Linked DNA regions of Homo sapiens: region 2 is linked to region 1. Evidence: promoter capture Hi-C in 16 types of primary human blood cells and fetal thymus (Javierre and others, 2016). All regions are on one chromosome and are shown on one strand. The core of a region is centred on a gene start or on the middle of the fragment in contact, and the rest is flanking DNA. Distances in the headings are between cores, read along the strand shown. Region 1 holds the start of CYP2B6 (cytochrome P450 family 2 subfamily B member 6). Region 2 holds the start of EXOSC5 (exosome component 5).

Region 1 (6,734 bases), core at 3,599-6,098:
TCCACATCCCTCAAAGTTTATTACAGGCCCAGTGAGTTCCTGCACAGCTGCAGGGTCACCGGACCGATAAGGTTAGGTTGCAAGACATGTCTTTCTCAAGATGTAAGAAATGTTATTTAACTGCTTTGTTTCTCACTTCTGAAACTGGCTTCCTGCCTCATGTAGTTCCCACCTTAATATGTTTAAAAGTAGGAAAAGCCTTTGTTCGGGGCTCAGACTTTCTGGATGTATGTCTGGCTGAACCGGTGATCACCTTAATTTAATAAACTCTCCTGAACCTTTTTTGGTCTCTCCAGTCTTTGATTGTCCCGCAACAGTATTACAAACAAATATCATTAGGCAAAGCATGCTGAATTGATTGGAGTCCCTTGGTCTCAGGTATTATTGATTGATGGCAATCAGATCCACTCCTACTGGAAAGACATAGATAGATCTCTTGTAAAATAGTAATAGAGGGCCTATGCCCCTAATAATAGAATCTCATGTATCTCCCACTCTTATAAACTCTGATATGACTCAATAATGCAAGGCTATAATACTTTATGCCAAAGCATGTTTTCACCAGGTAAAATGAGTCATTGATGACACATCGGTTGATGACAACCAGACCTTTCATGATCTAGAATTTAGAGGTTGGGCCCTTTGGAAATGACACCAGACAAACTGTCCTTGAACTCCATTGGAAGAGACCGTACCAAGTTCTTCTAAGACTGTTCCTTGTACTCCATTGGGAAGGACAATGCCAAGTTCTTCTCTGTAGCAAAATGTCAGGGTCTCGGATCTTGGATCCACATCTCTCCATTGGAAAGGACCCTTCTAGACTCCTAGAACTGTATGTCTGTTGGAGACCTTAAGGCAAAGCTGACCAGGGAAGTTTTTCCCCAGAAGCAGTTGGCATCTTATATGCGGACAGCTTTTCCAAGATTGTGGATCAAGATTTCTCTTCCATCATGAAAGCATTATCTTTTATCCTTTCTTCCCCATTTCTTGCTGTCCTAACCCTTTCCCTTTCCTTACAAGAAAATCCATAGGACTATAATCTGTGAATGGCTTTAGCAAAGGCTTATACTCTAGCAAAACAAGCAAACAAACAAAAAAAACAAGGAGTTGTTGAGTTTCTGAACCAACGCCCCAAAATCAGGAAATAATTTCACTGGTGCCAATGCCTCTTCATGTTCCCAATGAGAATCACCCAGAAACCCCAAAGGAGGAGTGGAAAGCTATATCTTGATATTCTAGACATCATTGCCACTTGCTTTTTTGCACTCACTGGAAATATTTAGTAGTGATTATGTTATTAGTTAGTTAATATAATAACAGTACGTAATAACATACTATTAACTAGCTAATAACATAATCACTACTAAATATAGGAAATGTATCTGAATAATGGCTGCAAAAGGCATATTTTGCTTCCAGGCATCCCGTATGCAAGACCTGGGGACTACCTATGGGGGTGTGGGCAATTGCGTGTGTAATGTTACTGGATTAAATATGTAAAGTGGCCAGGCATGGTGGCTCATGCTTGTAATCCCAGCACTTTGGGAGATTGAGATGGGAGGATTGCTTGAGGCCAAGAGTTCAACATAGCACGACCCCAACTCTATTAAAAACAAATAAATAAGTAAATACAGTAAAGTCTCTTTCCAACTAAATGTGGTTATGCACCTTCGCAGCATGCTAGAAAAAGACCACAAAAAAGTAAGTTTCCCACCTTGTTCAGGAGCTATGCAGACTTATGGGTAAACAAATCTAACTGATCTCTGCTCTAATGCCAGTAGGTGACCCTCTTTTCCAACACCACGAGTGCCTACCTTGAGTATCTTGAGGTTTGCTTACTCTGTTCTTTCTCCTCACAGGTCCAGAACTTGCTATTTGGCCTAGCTCACTGCTGCTTTCCAAATTGTTTCCCTGAGAGTTTCCTAATACCTCCCATAGTTAAAAGCCAAAACAGTCAATAACTGAAATTACTATCAACCTCAAAATCGACGAAGATAAGTTGGTTTCTGTTCAGAAAAGGTTCCAGTTGGGTTCCTGGGTGCTCATTCTTGGTGGTATTTGGGTGACAGTTGTATGGAATCTGAGGCTAAGTTATACATTAAGGGACATCTTGAATTTTGCAGCTAATTGAACCTCCAAGGAGTTCAGATGGGTAGAAGCCACTCTCCAAACTGAGATGAGAACATTTGTGGCAACAAAAACGCTTAATGGAACATCACGCAATTTTAGATCTCCTCTATGCCCATCTTGGAGGCTTGTGTATGGTGCTGAAGAAAACCAAATATTGCTCTTATCTTTCCAGTGAATTCACTAGTGCAGATAACTTAATTTAAAATGCGGCTGACACTGCTGTTTCTCTAGACACTGCCACAAATACACTAAGGACATTTCTCAGGGGAAAGAAACAGATATGTGTTTACAGGTGCAGCTAGCAGTTGGTTTGCAAGCATCCTGAATGGTGATGGTAAGTGATATGGTTTGGCTCTGTGTCCTCACCCAAATCTCATCTTGAATTGTAATCCCCAGGTGTGGAGGGAAGGACCTAGTAGGAGGTAACTGGATCCTGGGGGCGGTTTCCCCCATGCTGTTCTTGTGATAGTGAGTGAGTTCTCACAAGATCTGATGGTTTTATAAGAGGCTCTTCCCCCTTGGCTCTCTCTCTTTTTCCTGCCACCTTGTGAAGAAGGTACTTGCTTCTCCTTCACCTTCCATCATGATTGTAAGTTTCCTGCTTCTCATTCACCTTTTGCCATGAATTGTATTTTCCTGGGGCCTCCCCAGCCATGTGGAACTGTGAGTCAGTTACATCCCTTTTGTTTATAAATTACCCAGTCTCAGGTATGTCTTTATAACAGTGTGAGAATGGACTAACACAGCAAGCCTGGCTATCCCAAACTTTTCTACTCTTAATGTTTCTTCTAGTGGGTCTCCAGGATACTATATGTTACCAGGCCAACTACAAATGAATGTCTCTATAAATCAAGTTATTTTATAGCAAGCTCTGGTCCTTAATTACCATCATGCCCTGAACAAAATCTATGACCAATTGGACTCTAATACTATTGAACTATCTTTATTGTCTGAACTTCGAATTATTCGATTTTGATCAGTTTGGTTCATGGACACACTCAAGTTAAAAGAGACTATTAACAGCCTTTCTTCTCTCTGTGGACAGTGGACCTTATCTATACCCCCAAGTCCACATTCCTCAAAGTTTATTACAGGCCCAGTGACTTCATTTTCTTCGTATTACCCTCCTGAGAGCCATCATAACAGTCTCCCTGATGTGTTGTATTTTCTCAAGAGTCTTGGCCGGGTGCGGTGGCTCACACATGTAATCCTAGCACTTTGGGAGGCCGAGGCAGGTGGATTGCTTGAGCCCAGGAGTTTAAGACCAGTCTGGGCAACATGGCAAAACCCTGTCTCTACAAAAAATACAAAAATTAGCTGGGCGTGGTGGCATGCACCTGTAGTTCCAGCTACTTGGGGGGCTGAGGCAGGAGGATCACTTGAGCCTTGGGAGGTCAAGGCTGCAGTGAGACGTGATCATGCCACAGCACTTCAGCCTGGCTGACAGAGTGAGGCCCTGTCTCAGAAAAAAAAAGAGTCTTAAATGCTCATATGCAGCCATTCTTTGTACATCCAGTGGGCTCATTACAGTGGGAACAACAAAAACATGAAGAAAAGGTAAAGAATCACTCAACTACGTTGACATTGTCCATTGTGAATTCCATACTGAGAGCAGACAAGTCCATTATGATGGTGACAGAAGTAATGTTGATGCCCAAGGTTTTGGTCAATCTCAAAATTTTGAGGCTGACCAAAAGGGGAGAATTGTTTAATTAAATTAAATTTGACCTAAAGCTCTCTCTGTAGAGTGAACTGCAACCTAACTTGGGAGTATATTCTTTTTTTTTTTTTTTTTTTTGAGAAGGAGTCTCACTCTGTCACCCAGGATGGAGTGCAGTGGTAAGATTTTGGCTCACTGCAACCTCTGCCTCCTGGATTCAAGTGATTCTCCTTCCTCAGCCTCCTGGGTAGCTGAGATTACAGGCACGCATCACTATGCCCAGCTAATATTTGTATTTTTAGTAGAGACAAGGTTTCACCATGTTGGCCAGGCTGGTCTCGAACTCCTGACCTCAGGTGATCCACCACCTCGGCCTCCAAAAGCACTGGGATTACAGGCATGAGCCACTGCACCTGGCCCAAATGAATATATTCTTGTGACAAGTAGCCAAGTGTTGGCTAATCAGAGCAGCTGGGCTTTCAGTCCACACAGGCTGCAAACTGCTCAGATTGTGACCAAGTAAGGCAAGCTGTGATCTGTGGCCAATCAGGCTGTTTCTGTATGTCACCTCCTTTTTCTGCCTGTAAATACCACTTGACCATACTGCCGTGTGGTGTCTTTCCTGGTTTAGGGAGCTGTCCAACTCATGAGTCACTTCTTTGCTCAAATAAACTCTGCTAAATTTAATTTGATGCTTTTCTCCTAATAATACCACCCATCATGCTTCACCATGCTCCGTACTCACCAACCATGCCCGTGCCACCCCTGACTCTGGAAGTCTGCCTCATTCTGTTTGGTGAAGCTTCCCCAAGTACCAAGGCAAGAAGCAGCTCACCCTCAGACCCCATTCGTCTGTGTCTTACCCTCAGAAAGGATTTGAGTAGGCCTCTTCTATCCATCTGCAGAAGGTTTCCCAAAAGGGGCAGAGGGCGGGGCCCTGGTGGGAGGCGGTCATGGGTGTTAGGGTGGCGCTGAACCAGGAGTAGCAAGAGTCCTGTGAGGAGTGCAAGGAAGAGGAGGACGCTGAGTTCCATGGTCCTGGTCTGACTGCCCTGCACCCTGCTGCAGCCTCCAACTGGGCCTTTTATCCTGACCCTGCCTCTGCACCCTGTTATAAAATTTCATCCATTCCCCACCTCCTTTTTCATCATCATCCAGGAGCATTAGCTTAGAAAAAGTTGTTAGGGAACCCAGACTTCCTGCTTGGGCAACCCAGTGACCTGATGCCTATCCCTTTACCCACTCTGTAGATATTGGCAGGGATACAGTGGTAGAGATATCAAAGTCCAGGTGAGCAAGTGAATGTGTGGGTGTGTGGGTTTGTGGGTATATGTATGTCTATTTTTGTAAGCATAGGTGAGCTTGCACTTTTTTACTTAGCTTTGTCTGTTTGTCTGTGCTTGCATGCATTTGTCCATGCCTGCTTGCATCCCTGTATGTGCTTATATGATTTTTACATGTAAAGGGGTGTTTGAATTTATGCAAATGTACTGGCGTATATTTCTGTGGTTGAATCTGGGGGTGCTTATGTGTGTATCCTTGCATGTGTATGAGCTTCCTTGTATTTATACAGTTTTATATACGAAAGTGCATTTACATTTGTGTGTTGTGGAGGTGGTGGTAGTGCATGTTCAAAACTGAGAGGCTGGCTGGGTGCGGTGGCTCACACCTGTAATCCCAGCACGTTGGGAAGCTGAGGGGGGCAGATCAATTGAGGTCAAGAGTTCGAGACCATCCTGGCCCACATGGCAAAACCCCATCTGTACTAAAAACACAAAAATTAACCGGGCGTGATGGTGGGTACTTTTAATCCCAGCTACTCGGGAGGCTGAGGCAAGAGAATCACTTGAACCTGGGAGGTGGAGGCTGCAGTGAGCCAAGATTACACCACTGCACTCCAGCCTGGGTGACACAGCAATACTCCATCTCAAAAAAAAAAAAAAAAAAAAAAAAAGGAGAAGCTGATGAAAATAAGGAATTATTCAATTCAATCAAATTTGGCCTACTGCCTTTGTAGCATAGCAAACTGTAACCTAGCAATACATGAACCAATTGTGTGTATCTGTGTGTGCTGGTGTATTTGTGCTGGTGTGTTGGTGGATCTCCTAGCCCCTCTCTTTGGAAGCCTGCAGATGCTGAGTCTATCTCCAGTGTCCCCTCCTTCATCCGCCCTTCTGTGACAGCCACAGGTGGAAGTGGTCGGAGAAACAGAAGGAGGAGCAAGAGATGCAGAACTGGTGAGTCTCAGAGGAAGAGGTGGTCAGTTGGAAGGAGACAGAAACTGAGACCTGGCAGGTACAGCGATCAGGTCCTCTTGGTTTCTGATCACTCTAACTAGTGCTAAGGAGTTTCTTCCCTGCCTCTGACTATCTTCACGGTGCAGGAAATTTCTCTGGCTCTCTCTCTGTCTGACTTTGTGTCTCTGTTTTCCCCCTGGAGACTCTTGAGCTCCAGGTGTGTGCAAACTGAGTCCAGTTTGATTGATGTCTACTGGACTCCCATATGTCTCTATCCTCACTGTGCACCTTCACCCACACATCCTCTGACAGGGTCAGTCCATCTTTGCAAAACGTGGGTGTGAATGTGTGCGTGTCTGCCTGTCTCATCCTACGCCTGACTTTTGACCATGAGGCAACATCTTTCTTGCAATGTTAAGCAAACCCTTTGCTGGATCCAGGACCTGAACCCGAAGTTACTTTGACCCAGGAGGAGCAGACAAACAGTCCTATTTGTAAGAGGTGGAAACTGTACTTTCCTGACCCTGAAGAGGTGGCAGCATGGACTTTCCTGAACCAAGGGCCTCGGTCTTGCTGTGCTGTGTCATCTGACACTAAGATTGGGTGCTCATTGCAGCCCCAGGGTGAAGCACCGATGGGGAGGCGTGAAGTGCTTTACACACAGTAACTCAGTCTTTACACTCTTAGTGAGGTATTGTTGCCATCCC
Region 2 (6,233 bases), core at 3,602-6,101, 410 kb before region 1:
GGAAGGAGCCAGTGGGAGGTAATTGAATTATGGGGGTGGATCTTTCACGTGCTGTTCTCATTATACTGAATAAGTCTCACGAGATCTGATGGTTTTATAAAGGGGAGTTCCCCTGCAAGCACTCTGTCTGCCTGCCACCATGTAAGATGTGACTTTGCTCCTCATTTGCCTTCCGCCATGTTTGTGAGGCTTCCCCAGCCATGTGGAACTGTGAGTCCATTAAGCCTCTTTTTCTTTATAAATTACCCAGTCTTGGGTGTGTTTTTATTAGCAGCCTGAAAACGGACTAATACATACACTGAGTACCTACCACTTGGAGATACTGCACAGGGCACTGGAACCCCCAGACAGGCTGCCCCTGAAGAGCTGGGTCACAGAAATAGTCACCGATAATTAGCACAGAGCGAGCTCCAGGGGCTTCCTGACTTCCAACAGGGTAGGGACTCTATTCACCCCACTAGCTAGGGTCAGAGAGGTGAAATGACTTAGCCAAGCCCAGGCCTGGGGTAGTGGCTGAGAAACTGACTCACAATTCCTTGACAATCTGAGTTTCCTTCCTCCTCCTTTCCCTGAGCACTAAAACGTCTGCTATGATAACAGAGACAGGAAGGGAGGTGAAAATCAGGCAAACACATCTGCAGGGCAGCAGGGTATTCAATGAAGGAGTGGGCAGAGCAGGGGCAAGAAGTCGGGGACAAGTAAAGCAGCCCCACTCCTCCTTCTAATCCAATCTTCCCCAGTGAACCCAGTAATCCAATCTGTCTACAATATGCAGCCTCTCAACCTTTCCCTGACTATTTCTTCATCTCCACCTGGATAAAACTGCATCATCTTAGCCAGGCATGGTGGCTCACACCTGTAATCCCAGCACTCTGGGAGGCCGAGGTGGGTGGGTCGCCTGAGGTCGGGAGTTCAAGACCAGCCTGATCAACATGGAGAAACCCTGTCTCTACTAAAAATACAAAATTAGCCAGGCATGGTGGTGCATGCCTGTAATCCCAGCTACTCGGGAGGCTGAGGCAGGAGAATCGCTTGAACCCAGGAAGAGGAGGTTGTGGTGAGCCAAGATCATGCCATTGCACTCCAGCCTAGGCAATGAGAGCAAAACTCCACCTCGAAAAAACAAAAAACAAAACAAAACAAAAACCCTGCACCATCTAATGTGGCAGCCACCAACCACTTGTGGCTATCTTATTTTGAGACAGAGGGCTGCTCTGTCACCTAGGCTGGGGTATAGTGGTGCGATCTCGGCTCACTGCAATCTCCGCCTCCCAGGTTCAAGCGATTCTTCTGCCTCAGCCTCCCAAGTAGCTGGGACTACAGGCACACGCCATTACGCCCAGCTAATTTTTTTGTATTTTTAGTAGAGATGGGGTTTCACCATGTTGGCCAGGCTGGTCTTGAACTCCTGGCCTCAGGCAACCCGCCCACCTTGGCCTCTCAAAATGCTGGGATTACAGGCATGAGCCACCGCACCCAGCCCACTTGTGGCTACTTAAACTTAAACTCATGATAATTTAATAATATGGCCAGGCAAGGTGGCTCACGCTTGTCATCCTGCACTTTGGGAGGCTGAGGCAGGAAGATCGCTTGAGTCCAGGAGTTCAAGACCAGCCTGGAAAACATGGCAAAACCCCATCTCTACAAAGATTTAAAAATTAGCCAGGCGCAGCCAGGCACAGTGGCTTATGCCTGTAATCCCAGCACTTTGGGAGGCCGAGGCGGGCAGATCACCTTAGATCAGGAGTTCAAGACCAGCCTGGTCAACATGGTGAAACCCCATCTCTACTAAAAATACAAAAATTAACTGGGTATGGTGGCGCACGCCAGTAGTCCCAGCTATTTGGGAGGCTGAGGCAGGAGAATCACTTGAACCTGGGAAGTGGAGGTTGCAGTGAGCCGAGATCGTGCCACTGCACTCCAGCTTGGGTGACAGAGCAAGACTCCGTCTCAAAAAAAAAAAAAAAAATTAAAAATTAGCCAGGCGTAGTAGCACGTGCCTGTGGTCCCAGCTACTTAGGAGGTGGAGGTGGGGGGATTGCTTGAGCCCAGGAGGTTGAGGCTGCAGTGAGCCATGATCACACCACTGCACTCACTCCAGCCTGGGTGACAGAGTGAGACCTTGTCTCAAAAAAAGAAAAGGCTAGGCGCAGTGGCTCATGCTTTTGGAGGCCAAGACAGGCGGAACTTGAGGCCAGAAGTTCGAGACCAGCCTGGACAACATGGTGAAACCTCGTCCCTACCAAAAATACAAAAATTAGCCAGGCGTGATAGTGCATGCCTGTAATCCCAGCTACTAGGGAGGCTGAGGCAGGAGAATTGCTTGAACTCGGCAGGCAGAGATTGCAGTAAGTCAAGATCATGCTGCTGCACTCCAGCCTAGGCGAGAGAGTGAAACTCTGTCTCAAAAAAGAAAAAAAAAGAAAAAGGAAAGAGAGGTACAGAAAGAAAGAGAGAGAGAAAAGAGAAGAGAAAAGGAAAGGAAAGGAAAGGGAAAAAGAAAAGAAAAGAAAAAGGAGAGGGGAGGAGAGGAGAGGAGAAGGAGAGGAAAGAAAGAAGAAGAGAGAAAGAACAGGTGGGAGAAATAAAGGGGAAAAAACAATAACTCTTAAGATAATACAAATTTAAATATATATAAATAAAAAGTAGGGACTTCTTCCCTCCCCACTCCCCACCAAAAATGAAGTAGGGGAAGCAAGAGGAAAGGTAATCAAGAGATTGAGACAGGAGAGAAAGATTTAATCAGCCATAAATGACCTTTCCCTAGCCTGCCCCAGTCCTGCCCACCTCCTGCCCCACTTGCCCAGCCAATGGGCCCCTGGGACTGAGATCAGCTGTGGAGGATATGAACTGCTCAAAAAAAAAAAAAAAAAAAAAAGTGAAAAGGTCTCCAGCCCAAAGGCAAGAGACTGCCCTACCCACACCTTGCTCCTGCAGCCCTTCTGTATTTACCTGTTTCAAGTGACTCCGTTCCTAGATACCTACTACGTCCTACTCCTGGCCCATCTTCTTCACCCTCCTCCCGTTTGTTCCCCTACCCAGAGCTTCTTTCTACAGATTCCATCTTCCCCTCCTTATGGATTGGGGATCAGAGGATCAGACTCAACCTCACAATATCTTTTCAGATTTTTTTCCCCAGGGCCTCACCAATCCAGGCCTTCCCAAGGTCACCCCTTTCTTCTCCCCATCTCCAAGGTTAGTTTCTGTCCCTTCCCTCCACCCTCACTATCAACATTCCTATTGCCCTTAGGATGTGCCAGGTCCAGTCCTTAGCATTTTACATATTGATTTTTCACAGCCCTATGAGGTGGCCACTGTTAATATTTTAGAGAGGAAAATTAGCTCCATAGATCCAGAGAAGTGCAGTCCGTTGGCCAAGGCTACACAAGTGGAAAGCGGCAGAGCAAGGACATGCATCCACCCATGTAACCACTACTCTCCTATCTGTCAACTGTAGTTCAAAGCTCTTCTGCAACCCATTGCCTCTCCCCGTCTAAAGATAGGCTTCCACCTAGGTTTTTTGCAGTGTAATCTTGCCCTTAGCAGCATCCACCTGAAGGGATTGTGACCCTTTTGACAAGAAACAAAGCCTTCTCAAGTGTTTCTAAGAAATGTGGGCAAAGTGCCCTGTCTGTACCTCTCTCCCTCCTTTTTTCCCCTCATTAATTCAACAAATATTAATCGTCTCCTCTGTACAGTGTCCAGAACACACGAATTCTCTGTCTTGATATTCGATCAAGAGACACAGGAATCAAACAAATTTTTTACACAATTCATTTTAAAATCAGAATTGTGGCAAAGGAGCAAAGAAATACAAGGCCCTATGCAGCCTGTGACAGGGACCTGTTCTCTTCTTTCTTCTTCTTGAAGAGGGATCTTTGCCCAGAAGAAAGTCCCTCCCTTACAAAGTCAGTTTCATTCTCCAAACCCTGAGGGAGAAGGTCTTGCGGTCTTCCCCTGTTCCTCCAAGGAGCCTCCCCTGAATACCAGTGGCAGCTAATAAGGAACCCCCATCTCTCTCTTCAAGTCGTCTCCCTCAGGGCCCACAAAGAAGTTGCAAACGGGTTTTTTCCTCTCCTAAAGAAGTGGAAGTTCTTTTCGTCTCCTAAGGAAGTGGCAGATCTTCCCTTCGGTGTCTTCTCCAAGGAGTCTCCCACTCTTTTTCCCTTTTGTGACAGCCCTTCCTTCATATCCTTCAGGGACCCCACACTCTGAAGATAGCCTTTACATCCCTAATCCCCTTTGGGAAAACCGCCTGGGGCCCAGGTACTCACAGATCTAGCCAGTCCCCGAGCCCCAGGCTGCCGCAGCAGCAGGAGGGCAGCCTGGCTCAAACCACGGTTTAGCCGCCAGACCCTCGCTGCAGCGATCGCTACCGCCATCTTGGCTAACAACCACTCAGCGGTCCGGCACTCACGTAGGCTAGATTCGGGGCTGCCTCTTTATGTGCCTGACGCAAACTCCAGCACCATCTGACAAGAAAACCATCTTCTTCCCGTTCTGTGGTAGATAGAATGCACAGAGATTTGGAGAAAAAAAAATCTATCTACCCAAAATTTTCTCCAATCGCCTCATTGTAGTTACTCCTGTAACAGGCAAAGAAGAGGGCAACCTGACCAGGGCCTCAGGGATTTAGGGCCCGGGGGCCCAGAGTAAAGCGGATCAATGCCAAGGCCTGCCTTCTGTTCCCAAATGTCCAATGGCGTTGCCAGAGTTAGGAGGTGGGACTGGGCGGAGCCAGATTGTTGGTAAACGCTAAGCCACGTGCGGACGCCCAGGAGGATGGCCCAGCCCGGCGCGTGCGCACTGGTTACGCAGCCTGTTTGCGGCGCGCGCTGCCAGGCGGAAGTGACAACTGCAGCCGCACGTGGGCTCGGCGCGATGGAGGAGGAGACGCATACTGACGCCAAAATCCGTGCTGAAAATGGAACAGGGTCCAGCCCTCGGGGTCCTGGCTGCAGCCTCCGGCACTTTGCCTGCGAACAGAACCTGCTGTCGCGGCCAGATGGCTCTGCTTCCTTCCTGCAAGGTAAGAACTTCACCCAGGTCTTTCTTTTGGAGAGGGACTACCGTGTACTGTGCAACCGAGTGCCCACCTCCTCACGATACCAGCTGGTAAATGTCACTCCTGCGTTGATGCATGATTTCTTGTCCGATTGAATACTACTAAATACGCAGGGATACACACATCTCTCCCTCACGACTAGAAAGGAGAAGATAGTTCCATCTTTGTAACTATCTCTGAGAATGAGAGGAGGGGCAGACTGTCCGCCCAAGAATTGATATTTCAGAATAGGGAAAATCACCTCGCCAGGGTAAATATCCCCCTTAACTCGATTCCTCCTCCACCCTCCCACCCCCACCCCCCACACACACACCCTCTAGGTCCTTGCATCCCGGACTGAAGCAAACCTGTCTATTTGCATACTGTGGACTGTGGCGGATCTTTCACCCACGTAAATACTCCTCAAATTGAAGATAATGTCATTGCGCTGGGTTGAGAAATACATCCCCACCGCTACCTCACTGCATCTCTCCACACAAGTAAATATCCCTAAGATTAGGGCAAGTCAAAAAAAAAAAAAAAAAAAAGATTAGGGCAAGTCTTACCTATAGAGCAAATATCCCCTTTTCCTAGCTAAATAACTCTCAGAAGTAGATTAACTCCAAGAATATTTCTCTTTAACGTTTGAGACGGGAGGCCGGGGGCGGTGGCTCACGCCTGTAATCCCCACACTTTGGGAGGCCAAGACCTGTGGCTCACCTGAGGTCAGGAGTTCGAGACCAGCCTGGCCAACATGGCGAAACCCTGTCTCTACTAAAAATACAAAAACTAGCCAGGCATGGTGGCGGGCGCCTGTAATCCCAGCTACTCGGGAGGCTGAGGCAGGACAATCACTTGAACCTGGGAGGCAGAAGTTGCAGTGGGCCGAGATCGTGCCATTGTACTCCAGCGTGAGCGACAAAGCAAGACTCTGTCTCAAAAAAAAAAAAAATTGAGACAGCGTCTCACGATGTCACCCAGGTTGGTCTTGAACTCCTGGGCTCAAGCAATCCTCCTCCCAAAGTGCTCATACAGGTATGAGCCACCACGCCCAGCCCCAATACATTTTAACAAAATTTGGCTGCTGTGTTGATTGTGGGGAGTATGGGGGAAAACAGGGAGGTGATGGTGGCTCCAGCCAGAGCAGGAGTAGTGGAGGTGATGAGATTCTGGATGTAGTTTGAAAGTA

The links. Contacts are between HindIII fragments. The CHiCAGO score rates a contact against its expected background, and 5 or more counts as called.
Region 2: a contact is called between the fragment with the promoter of EXOSC5 here and the fragment with the promoter of CYP2B6 in region 1, in 6 of 17 cell types (total CD8 T cells, total CD4 T cells, total B cells and 3 more). The highest score is 9.8, in total CD8 T cells.

Annotation. Positions count from the first base shown.
Region 1 is chr19:40,989,396-40,996,129 of GRCh38, reverse strand. It overlaps CYP2B6 (cytochrome P450 family 2 subfamily B member 6), which reads right to left and starts at 4,848. Exons shown (of 9, transcript NM_000767.5): 1 at 4,654-4,848. The coding sequence starts at 4,824. RefSeq lists cis regulatory regions at 5,083-5,106, 6,481-6,493, promoters at 4,843-6,508, 4,809-6,734 and enhancers at 6,535-6,554, 6,537-6,584. The HindIII fragment of the contact is 6,148 bases long and covers 4,595-6,734 here.
Region 2 is chr19:41,395,977-41,402,209 of GRCh38, reverse strand. EXOSC5 (exosome component 5) reads left to right here and starts at 4,851. Exons shown (of 6, transcript NM_020158.4): 1 at 4,851-5,029. The coding sequence starts at 4,882. BCKDHA (branched chain keto acid dehydrogenase E1 subunit alpha) reads right to left here and starts at 4,392. Exons shown (of 9, transcript NM_000709.4): 1 at 4,275-4,392. The coding sequence starts at 4,382. RefSeq lists enhancers at 3,537-4,208, 4,364-4,643, 4,209-4,881 and a silencer at 4,640-4,928. The HindIII fragment of the contact is 9,689 bases long and covers 1-6,233 here.